2 separate regions of the Homo sapiens genome follow, and region 1 is linked to region 2. The links are contacts of gene promoters, found by promoter capture Hi-C in human tissues and cell types (Jung and others, 2019). All regions are on one chromosome and are shown on one strand. Each heading gives the region's core, a stretch centred on a gene start or on the middle of the fragment in contact. The rest is flanking DNA. Distances are from core to core; before and after follow the strand shown. Region 1 overlaps XPR1 (xenotropic and polytropic retrovirus receptor 1). Region 2 holds the start of STX6 (syntaxin 6).

The links. Contacts are between HindIII fragments. The study calls those that stand out against the background at their distance.
Region 1: a fragment that was not itself captured here is called in contact with the fragment with the promoter of STX6 in region 2 in 1 of the 25 tissues and cell types used here (neural progenitor cells).

What each region holds. Positions count from the first base shown.
Region 1 is chr1:180,852,877-180,858,884 of GRCh38, forward strand. The region is part of intron 11 of XPR1 (xenotropic and polytropic retrovirus receptor 1); the gene reads left to right. LOC124904464 (a long non-coding RNA gene) reads right to left here. Exons shown (of 2, transcript XR_007066760.1): 2 at 1-6,008. Among named protein-coding and RNA genes, the nearest start is that of LINC02816, 51 kb to the right of the region's middle. The HindIII fragment of the contact is 5,147 bases long and covers 1-4,689 here.
Region 2 is chr1:181,018,552-181,024,567 of GRCh38, forward strand. STX6 (syntaxin 6) reads right to left here and starts at 4,319. Exons shown (of 8, transcript NM_005819.6): 1 at 4,088-4,319. The coding sequence starts at 4,122. RefSeq lists an enhancer at 4,059-4,842 and silencers at 4,251-4,380, 4,501-4,600. The HindIII fragment of the contact is 9,160 bases long and covers 575-6,016 here.

The DNA.
Region 1 (6,008 bases), core at 866-3,365, 170 kb before region 2:
TGCTAGTCTCTTGCTGTGCTTAATTTATAGATTAAACTTTATCATAGCAGTACTATCCATGGTTTCAGGCACCAACTGGGGGTTTTGGAATGTATCCCCCACAGATTGCAATGGTGCAATCTCAGCTTACTGCAGCCTCCACCCGTTGGGTTCAAGCACTTCTCATGCCTCAGCCTCCCAAGTAGCTGGAATTACAGGCGCACACCAAGCCCAGTTAATTTTTGTATTTTTAGGAGAGACGGGTATTCGCCACGTTAGCCAAGCTGGTCTTGAACTCCTGACCTCAAGTTTTCCACCCGCCTCGGCCTCCCAAATTACTGGGATTATAGGCATGAGCCACTGCCACTGCGCCTGGCTTCTTTTCATTTTTTAAATTCAACCTATTTTCTTTCTTGTTCAGGTTAGGAAATTTCTATTCTATCTTTCAGTTGCCAGTTCTTTCCTCTGTCCCTTCTATTATTCTGTTAACAGTGAGTTTTATTTCAGTTATTGTATTTTTGGCTTCTAATATTTCTATTTGGTTCTTCTTTGTGTTTCCTGTATCTTTGGTGAGACTGTTTCTTTGCTAAGGCATTTTTATCATAGCTGCTGTGAGATCTTTGTCCAGTAATTCCAACATCTCTATCATCTCAGTTTTGACATCTTTGATTGTCTTTTCATTAAGTTTGAGATCTTCCTTGTTCTTTGTATGACTAGTGATTTTTTTAATTGAAAACTGGACAGTTTGGGTATTTTGTTATTAGACTATAGACACACACACACACACACACACACACACACACACACACACACCCTACCTCTTAATTATCCTTTGGATTGAGAACATTTCCTGCTTTTGCATGGTATTGCTAGCTGCTAACTGAGAGCTTTGGCAGCCTTACCTTCTGTGGCACAAATAATAGTGCATTCATGTGGTTTTTTTTTTTTTTTTTTTGTATTTTGTTGTATTTTGTTCGTTTTTCTTGAAATCAGTGGGAATTATCTGTGGTGATATTACACACAATTTTTTTAATGTCTCATAAGTGTAATACAGTTAAAACAGCTATAGGAATCATTAGGCATGCAGAAAGCAGCAACTTTTAAACATCATTGTGACACTCATTGAATTAAAAGCAGCTGTGTTTTGTTGTAAAGGAAAAAAATGATGTCTACAAAATGTTAGAACAATGCCGTTAAAGGTTGTATCTAAAAGGCAAGGAAAGTTTAATAGGGGTTTTGCTTTATCTATTTTTAGCTCTCAGGAACTTATCCTCATATAAGTCTGTTGCTTAACTTTTTCACATTCAACTTATTAACAAAAGACCATGAGATTGGCAGAGGAAGCAAAAGGAAAGCTTTATTTCCTGTAAAGGATTACAATCTGCAGGTCAGGAAACTAAGCTTCCAGCCAAAACCAAATACATAGGCTTCAGTTACAAAGGGGAGAGGTTGGAATTTATCCCCAGTGGGGTTAGCTCCGCATACATATTTAGCAGGTTATAGGAGAATTTATGAATATTTATGAGGGAAACCAAATGTGTGGTGAGTAAACATATATGTTACATATGTCCCATGTTCACTTCGGAGTAGGCAGTTAACATTAAAGTGAAGTGAAATTCGGCTCTTTGTGTCAAAAGGTGAAACACAGAGCAGAGCACAGAGGCATCTTGTGCTCAGTCTCTGTGGACCAGCCAGAACGAGTCTGTGATCAGCAGTCATTTATCAAAAAGGAATGCTTTGTAAGGCTAGTCACCTATCGTGGCAAAAGCACGATAAGGGAGGGGAGTTTGGCCACAGTGTCAGATGGTCTGTTGAGGTTGGGGAAGAAATCTTGCACACATTGTTTTTAGGGACTGGTTTCTGTTTAATTATAGGAAAGAAAGTCTTGGCGGCTGATAATGAGATAAGGGAATGTGGAGGTGTGACTGACCTCCTGCCTTTGTCAAAGCCTTAGAATCTGGTTTTAAAGTTTTCTGTTTGCCACAGCTGTCCATTTCATTTTGCCTGGAGGGCCTAGGAGCTACAAACTTAATAGGTGTTTTCAGGGACACATTATATGTGTAGGCTGCCCAGAGACTATGTTGCCTTTCCCAAGTATTTGTTGGAAGGTAAAGCATTGTGCAGAAAATACAAAAATGAGTGAAACATAGCCTCAATTCAGTTTGGCAAATATTAATTAAGCCCCTACTATGTCCAGCATGGTACATGGGCCCTAGAAAAATGCTGATGTGAGATCTTTCTGTGAAAGACATTACAATTTAATGGAAAAGACAAATATATATTCAATTTGCTCTACTCTAAAGTTAAATTCTTTTCACAATGCTAGATAGAATACAATATTACAGGAAAGAAAAAAATTGTGTATATACAGAATGAAAGACAGTATAAGCACAAGCAAAATGTTTTGTGAAAAGAATGTCATAGGAAGGAGAGATTAACTTTTTTCTAAACTTTAATGTATTTTGTCCTTTGTTAACATATTATTAAATTTTTTATCTCAAAAATGTTAACTTGAAAAGGGGTTTTTACAGCTGGGCACAGTGGCTCACACCTGTAATCCCAGCACTTTGGGAGGCCCAGGAGGGCAGATTATGAGGTCAGGAGATCGAGACCAGCCTGGCCAACATGGTGAAACCTCGTCTCTACTAAAAATACAAAAATTAGCCGGGTGTGGTGGTGTGTGCCTGTAGTCCCAGCTATTTGGGAGGCTGAGGCAGAAGAATCACTTAACCCAGGAGGTAGAGGTTGCAATGAGCCGAGATCATGCCACTGCTCTCCAGCCTGGCGACAGAGTGAGACTGTGTCTCAAAAAAAAAAAAAAAGTGGGGGGAGGGGGGACGGTTTTACTATAACTTTCATTGCTTTTCTCAGCTCCTAACTCAGCCTTTTCCTCTTTATTCTTACAGACCACCTTGTCTCCTACTAGCTTAAGAAAATTGAGGCTATCAGGAATCATTTTCCTTCAGCTACCTTCTCCCTACATGCTTATTTAATCTAAACCCCTTTTTACTGTATTTTCCCCAGTCTAAAGTAACAAGGTGTCCTTCCTCCTGTGCACTGCTCTCATTTCCCCTTGTCCCAGGATCTAGCTCTGGCAGTTGTCCCTTGTTTTTCCCAAATCTTCAAACTGTTTGTCATTACTGGCTCCTTCCTTCTAGCCTATGTACATGCTTAAGAGTCCCCTACTCTAAAAAGATTTCCCTTACCTCATTAAGCCATCTGGTCTAGTCTTTTTTCCTTTTCTCTATCCTGCATCTCAAAACAGTAATCTATCTATTCTTATTCTTACTGTCTCCATTCCTATAACCACAATAACTCTATAGTAATTAACACATATTTAGAAACCTTGAAATGTAAACAAACATAGAATTAGAATTTAAATTTTTTAAGAGATAAAGAGAAGCTCTGTAACATTTCAGAGAGTTCTCATCTCTTTGAGTCTTTGGTATTAAAAAAAAAAACTGGAAATAAACTCAACCAAGTGTAGTCAAACACAGTGTGATTCCCCTTATAGATGGAAGACTTATCTCTCATTGTAGCCTGTCCTTTTCATAGAAAGAGCTTCTAAATTATTTTGATGGTTGCAACCACTGTCTGTGTGACTCCCCAGTCTGTATCTGAAGCTTTTTAGTTTTTTCCAGTTGTTTTCTGGGCTTCCTCCACCTCGATGTTTCGTAAGTACCTTAAAGTCAACACGTCAAAAAATAAACTCATTTTTTTTCCTAAGCATGCTTCAAGCCCCATGTTCTCTAACCTAGTTTATGGCACCATGCCACTCACCCAGGTTAAAAACTAGGAGTTATTTTTGACTGTATCCTTCATCTCACCTTCAAAATTTACCAAGTCCTGCCAATTTTAGTTCCCAAGTATTTCTTAATTTTTGCCTTACCTCTCTGTTCCTTAAACTTATACTCAATTCTAGTCCTCATTGTTTCTCACTGGGCTGTTGCCACAGCCATATTAATACACTGCTTTCAATCTTTACACCTCAAACTCATCTCCCCAAAGATACCTAGAGCTGCACTGTTGCATAATTTAACTACCAGCTACATCAGTCTGTTGAGCATTTGAAGTGTGCCTAATCTAAATCGAAATGTGCCGTAAGTATAACATACAAACTGGATCTTGAAGACTTAGTTTGAAACAAAAAACTGTGAAGGATATCAATTTTATTTTGACTATATATTAAATGTAAAAGTGATAACATTTTAGGTATAGATTACATAAAATATATTATTAATTTTACCTGTTTCCACCTTTTTGAATATGGTTACTAGAAATTTTATTATTACATATACTCTTTCTCCACCTTCACATGAAAATGTGGCTGGTTCCTTGTCAGTACCCAAGTCCCAACTTAAGAAACCTTCTCTGCCTGAACGCTGTTTCTGCCTGAATACTGTCTGAAGGAATTTTGTCTTATCATCCTGTTCTGTTTTCTTCATGGTATTTTTCACTGTGTGAAATCATCATCTTTACTTATATATCTGATCATTGTCTACCCCTACGAAATAGGAGGCTTTACTGAGGCAGGAAATTTGTCTGACCATTAGTAAATAAGATTCACTGTTGTGTACCTGGTACCTAGAATAATATCTGGCATGTGCAGGTACTCTTTATTGAATGAATGGTTTCTATTCTGCTTGAAATGGTTCTCTCTGCCCCATAAACTTGTTTAACTCAAGTCCTTTCATGATTCAGCTCAAGTAGTACCTCCTTCAGGAAGATTTTCCTGGCTATTTCCCCTCCTGGCTTATTGATTCCTTTTCTATGCACAGTTCCAGAACTGTACCTATACATTGTGTTTTTGACTAAATTCTCTCTCCTCTTTTAGACTTGGCCCTTAGTAGTTCTTCAGTATATTCTCATTCCCTAGAATGTACCTAGTTAGGTTACCCAGTAGACATTCAGTATTTGTTTGCTGAATATACAAGCAAGCAGATGTTTTTTTGGAGTTAGTCTTTAGTATTCTAGTTATACAATAAATAATGCAGGTTATAGTATATACTCAGTAGTAAACAGTTCTTGAATTAGTAAAGGAATTCCTATGTACTATTTTTATTATAAAAACAATATAGTGGCCGGGTGTGGTGGCTCACACCTGTAATCCCAGCACTTTGATAGGCCGAGGCAGGCAGATCACCTGAGGTTGGGAGTTTGAGACCAGCCTGGCCAACATGGAGAAACCCTGTCTCTACTAAAAATACAAAATTAGCCGGGCGTGGTGGCGCATGCCTGCAGTCCCAGCTACTCAGGAAGCTGAGGCAGGAGAATCGCTTGAACCAGGAGGTGGAGGTTGCGGTGAGCCTAGATTGCACCATTGCACTCCAGTGTGGGCAACAAGAGTGAAACTCCATCTCAAAACAAAAACAAACAAAAAATATAGCAAAATTAAAGTCTTACTTAAATCATTTGTATAACCACCCTAATAACAATTATTTTCCTCAGCCCACTTTCTTCCTTAATCTTACTTCCCTCATCTGAGATAACCACTTCTGTTTTTTTCCCATAAACATAATTTTATATACAGTATGAAATAAGCAATAATATGTGTAATAACTTTTAAATTCTATTTTCCCACACTATGTTAGAAATTTTGTAATGTTACTTCATGGTTTTATGAAACTACTTTTTTCGTTTTAAAGTTGAGATGGACTTAGAGAAGCAATGCTGTCTAGTACAAAATGTTCCTTAGATGAGGATTCCTCATTCTGGTTCCCCCATTTAGCCTTAGGCCCTATGAGTTCCTTTTTTGTCTCAATCATTTTAAGAATGTGAATTTTCTGTAACCACAAAGCTTGGAAGAGGCAGTCTATATTCAAACCCAGGTCTCCTAACTTTAAATCTAGTTATCTTTCCATTTATTAACTATCTCCCTCAACTTCAGTTTCCTTAACTATAAAATGGGAATAATAATGTCTGTCTTGTCTGCCCTAAGGATAAAGATGATAATCACCTGAGGGATTAATATATGTGATCTCACATGTAACTAAAACACACTAAAGATCGGGGAATATCTATATTTGTTC
Region 2 (6,016 bases), core at 3,069-5,568:
TTTACTAAGTTTCATTTTCCTTTTTGTGAAATGATGACAATAATAATACCTACTTCATAAGGATAAAAGAGCAATCCCTGTTGTGGGATTCTGTTCCGAACAGGACATTGACAATGTCAAAACCTCCCAAAAGGAGCTTCAAACTTCCAAGCACTAACCACTGCATGTATAAGTTACAACAGCTTTCTAACTGGTCTCCTTTTTCATCTTTCCTCACACTGATGCATCCAACACTACCACCAAATCAATATTCCTAAAATCCTAATTTCATGTCATTTCCTTGCTTTAAAAATCTGTAATGGCCTCAAGATGAGATTCTCCTTAGGCCAACATAACTTGACCCTATTTTACCTGCACTGGGAAGTATTGACAGTAGTGTGAAATCAGGTTGTTCTAATTTGAAGCCTGAGTACACCACTTATTAGCTGTGTGACCCTAGGCAAGTAAGTTAACCCCTCTAACACTTCCTCAGCTTCTCATCTCTAAAATGTGGCTAGTATTCATCATATGGGTGTTTTTACAGAGTGAAAATTCATATAAAGTGCTTACTTAGCACTTTACATGTATGCCTGGCACTGGAGATGCATCCTTTAAATGTGAGCTGTTACTACTTCCCTAAACTGTCTACTCCACCTGGGCTGCTCTTCCAGATCATTTCTAACACACATTGCCCAACTTAGGCCTTTGGCTGGTGGTGTTCTCACCCATGAGGCACCATTCCATCACAATCACCACCATCAACAAAGAGTATGTGTTCAACATTTACACTATATATTCAAGGTGTAGGCTGGAAATACAGAGGAAAAAAAAAAAAAAAACAGTCCCAAACCTCAGAGCTCATAGTCTAATAATGAAAGAGAGACAGAGGAAGAGGTCCAATAATTAGGGGTGACAAAGGAAGCACTTCCTGGAGGCAAGGGAGATGCTTACACTGACTCCAGAAAGCTGCGTGGGTGAATCAGGCAGTGTGGGTGCATGTAGAGTAAGAGCATCCAGTACAGCAATCACAGTCACTGTATTGAGTCTGGCACTGCTGGAGTACTAAGGCTAAGGGAGAGCAGAGGCTAGATCAGTGAGGTCAGGAAGTGTTGGCACTTTATTCTGCAGGCCAGCAGCAGCCACTGAATAATATTAAGTAGGGTACACCTGTCTAGGACTCTAGAAAAGCTTACACTGTGCTGTCCAACACGGAAGCCACATACAACTACTGACTGGAAATGTGGCTAGTGTGACAGAAATTAAATTTTAATTAATGTAAACTTGGTAACTGATAGCAATTCAGTTATCAAAAACCTTTTATGTATGTTTGGAACAATTAAAGAGTATGTAGGCCGGGCGCGGTGGCTCACGCCTGTAATCACAGCACTTTGGGAGGCCGAGACAGGTGGATCACAAGGTCAGGAGATCGAGACCATCCTGGCTAACATGGTGAAACCCCGTCTCTACTAAAAAATACAAAAAATTAGCCGGGCGTGGTGGCGGGTGCCCTGCCCATAGTCCTAAAAATACAAAAATTAGCCAGGTGAGGTGGTACACACCTATAGTCCCAGCTACTCAGGAGGCTGAGGTGCAAGAATCGCTTGAACCTGGGAGGCAGAGGTTGCAGTGAGCCGTGATTGCACCACTGCACTCCAGTCTGGGCAACAGAACAAGACTCTGTCTCAAAAAAAAAAAATGTATTTAATGAACTTTAAATACAGATCAATTATTTCTGATGAAAATTTAATGTCCAAATTTAAATGTGCAGTAAGTGTAAAATATGTATCAGATTTAGAAGACTTAGTACAAAAGTAAAATATCTCATCAATAATCTTTAATCACATGTTGAATATTTTGAATGTATTAGAGATTACATTAGAATTAATTTCACCTGTTCCTTTATATTTTACTGCGGCTACTAGAAAATGTAAAATGACATACATGGCTGGCATTATACTTCTATTGGACAGCAATGATCCAATAGATCCCAGGACAGCTGAAAGAGGAAATGAGACCAGAAGCAGGAAGAACAATTAAAAAGACTCTGATAAGCATCCAGGTAAGAGAGACAGGCCTGATTATCTAAATTCTGCCCATCTTCAAAACCTAATTCAAGATACACTACTGCCTCCAAAAGCTCTCCTAATCCTAACAATTCCCAAGGAGTTACCTTTCTCTGAACTCCTGAGGCACTTATCTGTAGCATTCACTTCAACACTCATTCATTTGCCACCTGTCATTTCTATTTAATTTTGGGGTAATTTGTTTCTCAGATTAGACCAGAAGCTCCTAGGCTAAGGGCCATAATTTAGGCACCTTTAATTTTTGCATGCTGTGTAATGCATTTTTGATACTTTTAATAAACACAGGTACATGACTCCCCAAAAATCTGGATACACCTTCATGGGTGACTTTACCTTTCCACAGCAGAAGGAACTGAGAATCTCTTTTCCTTCAAGAACCTTAAAGATAGGAGCTAAAATGATGTAAAAATCAATCAAAACTCCCTCCAAGCCAATGTTCCGATAAAGTAGTGATATTTAATCAGTGAGCAAGCATTAGTAGACTGTATAGGATACCATCAAGAAAAAAAAATGCCAAGACAGAAGAATTTAGGCTTTTGACAAATTCCATAAAAAGTCAAACAAAAAATTTCTGATCATCTCTGATCTCTACCGCCAGAGATAACCTTTGCCAACCTAAGCATTAAGAACTTTCAATCAAGGAAAAAACATCTATTTTAAAAATTAACCCCTAAATCAATCCTTCTAATAAATATCACATTTTCTAGGTAGGGATACACATATTACCAGTAAATTTACAACTCAGCATTTTCCCATCTAAATTAGAGTAAGGTGAAGAAAAAAAACTTTCCAGGGAAATATTAAGAAGTAGTATAAATGTATTTTACTGCATAATCGATAAAGTATTTCACCTAAAATACCATTTAAATTTTCTACAACACTTGACTATACAACGGCCAGCTTGCACCACTACAGAAATAGGAAGCTAGCAGCAACTAGTAAAAAGCAAGGGACATTCTGTGGTGATCAGTACTGACCTGGGAACTTTGCAGTTTTCAGATTTTTCATGTTTGACATTTAAAACAGAAAACTGACAAGTTTCTAATAAGAAACTAAAAGTTACATCAGAATTGATCTTCTTGCATGTGTTTAATGGCTACGAAGTGGATATTACAAAGTGCAGTTGAAGACTCTATCTCCAAAGAAACAATCGAGCAATCAAAGATGAGCTAGGATAGCTTGTAAGGGAACAGAAGGCAGTCCTTTCTATTCTGAAAGGCAGAAGAAATAGGAGAAACCTGTCAAACAACCTGGATGAAATCAAGGAGTTAACAAGCAACACTCATTTCCTTTAGCACTGTGAGAAAATTCCGGTTGCTAATAGAAAGCTGAGGAAAGTTTGGTTTGGCTTGTTTCATTTTGTTTTCCTTCCAAATCATCACTGAGTATGAACGACTGCTTTCCTCTCCTCACATTACTCAGTAAAAACTCCCCCATTGAATTGTCTTCCGGTGCCCTGCTCCCCAGCCTCCCAGAACGGCCCCCGCCCCCGCCTCCCTCCCAGCAAACGTGCTCAGACGCCTCTGGGCTTGTTGTGGTCTCGCCAGTCTGCGGACAAGCGCTCCAAACTCAATGGACAATGGAGCTCACCCCCGTCAACGCGAACTACAAAGCTCAGGAGGGCCATTTCCCTTTTCCTGCCCAGATGCTGTTTTCGCTCCTTCGAAGCAAGATCCCATGCTCGACTAGACGGCCAGTGTGCGCCAGGACCCGCGTGTCTCCTTCCCCACCTGCAGAGCTGCTGAGCCCCTCGGCCCCCAAATAAATTGTACCGCAGCACACAGGCCAAAAAGGGCCCCCCACCACCAGGGGCTTGGCTGGGGACAGTGGCTTCACGGTCCAGGTAGGGATGGAGGGAACGTCTCTTGACGCTTGGTCATGGCCCTCAAGACTAAGCCGTCTCCACTGTTCCCCCTCCCCAGCTCCAACTTGCCTCCCCTCCCCCCACTGCGAGAAGACCTAGGAGGTGCGGGCAGGCAGCACCGCCACCTCTTCCTCCGGTGGAGCGCTCGGCCGACACTCACCCTTTCACCACAAAGAAGGGGTCCTCCATGGACATGGCGTCCCGGCCCCGGCCGCCTTCACCTCCTCCGCGCACAGGGCGCCCGTGCCTCCCGGTCTCCCTCCGCCCACCCCGCCTGTTCCCGCAGCTGCCCGCGCCTTAGTCTGGGTGAAGCCGAGCAGCGGGCACGCGCACAGGCCAGGTGCACAGGACGGCCGCTGGTCCAGCACTCGCTCAGCACCACTGGCCGAATCCCGGACTCGGGCGCCGGCCCCCTCGGCAGCCTCCAGTCCCGGCTCCTCCCGAAGCGTCGGAGGGCCTGACCCCACCCCCGGGACCCTCGGCCGCGGCCAATCACGAACGCCGCCTGAAACACGACTTCCGCACCCCGCTCACGTGACCAGGGCATATATCTCTCTCTCTCTCTCTCTCTCCTCTCTCTCCTCTCTCTCCTCTCTCTCCTCTCTCTCCTCTCTCTCCTCTCTCTCCTCTCTCTCTCTCTCTCTCTCTCTCTCTCTCTCTCTCTCTCCCCCCCCCCCCAGTGGGCGGGGCTTACGCCTGCGTCCCTCGGCCCTGGAGGCGGAGCCCTCGGGGCGGTGGAGGTGGGCGGGCTTCTACAGCCCTCTCCTCAAGCTTGAGGGTGAGGAGTGGCTTGTTCCCTCAGAACTAGGCAGTCGGCTTTTCAGGATAAGCTGTAGTTGTACCTGATTTGCAAAATCCTCTTACCTTTCCTCTACTTTTAATACTTAATTTTGACAGTATGTAATTTATAAATCTATCTGGTCCTCGACTTAAAATGAAGCATAGTATCTGATTATAATGTTACACAGATCCTTTAAGTAGGTCTTGCTTTGTGTTGGACAGTGTGCTAAAGGTTGTGTATGCATCATCTCAGTATCCTTTGGGGGAAAGTATTATTCCCCCCTCCCCCTTTTTGGGGGGCAGGGTCTCTCTCTGTCACCCTGGCTGGAGTGTAGTGGCACAATCACAGCTCACTGCACCCTTGACCTCCTGGGCTCAAGCGATCCTCCGGCCTCAGCCTCCCGAGTAGCTGGGACTACAGGTGAGCGCCACCACGCCCGGCTAATTTTTAAATTTTTTATAGAGATGGGGCTCTCAGTATATTTCCTAGGCTGGCCTTGAACACCTGAGCTCACATGATCCTCCTGCCTCTGCCTCCCAAAGTGGTGGGATTATGGGCGTGAGCCACCACACCATCCATTTTTCTCATTTTGTAGATAAGAAAATAAGTTCAGAGAGGCTTGAAGACTTCCTGTAGTCACACAGCCTGGACAGGGCAGAACTGCAGATTCTGTGCACTTTCCACCAGATGGGGTGTACTTTCTGTTGCTGTACATTCTGCAAATAACCATGTAAAGTAATTTTTCATACAGCATATGGTGCTTCCCAGGAGAGCACACCTTCGAGGAATAAAGAAGGGGCCAGGTATGACAACTTCCTCTCACTGTGGTTCAAGAGCTATTCGAGAAAACATTTTGCCCAGAACCATTAACCAACTCATATGCTAGATATGCTATGAAATTTGTGGATGGGGATTGTGGACTTTGATTGCTGAAAATCATTGAGCACTTACTGTGTGTGTGTGTCAGGCAGGATGTTAAGTGTTATCTCAGTTGCTCTTACAATGTGATAATTACTGCTATCATGCCCATTTTATAAATGAGAAATCTGAGACTCGGAGGTTAAGTGACTTGCCCAAGGTCACCAGTCTGGAGCTGGCACAGTCCTTGGAGCAACACAAACCCCGTTTAAACCTTGGCTCTATCATTCAGTTCCTCATCTATAAAACATAAATAATAATAGCTAGTTCATGGGTTGTTGTGATGGTTAAATAAAAATGTGTGTAAACCTCAAGATCCCAAAGGACTAAGTTACTGAAGTCAGGAAAACCAGTAAGGACGCTGCTAAAGTCATGTGGCCTGAAGGGATG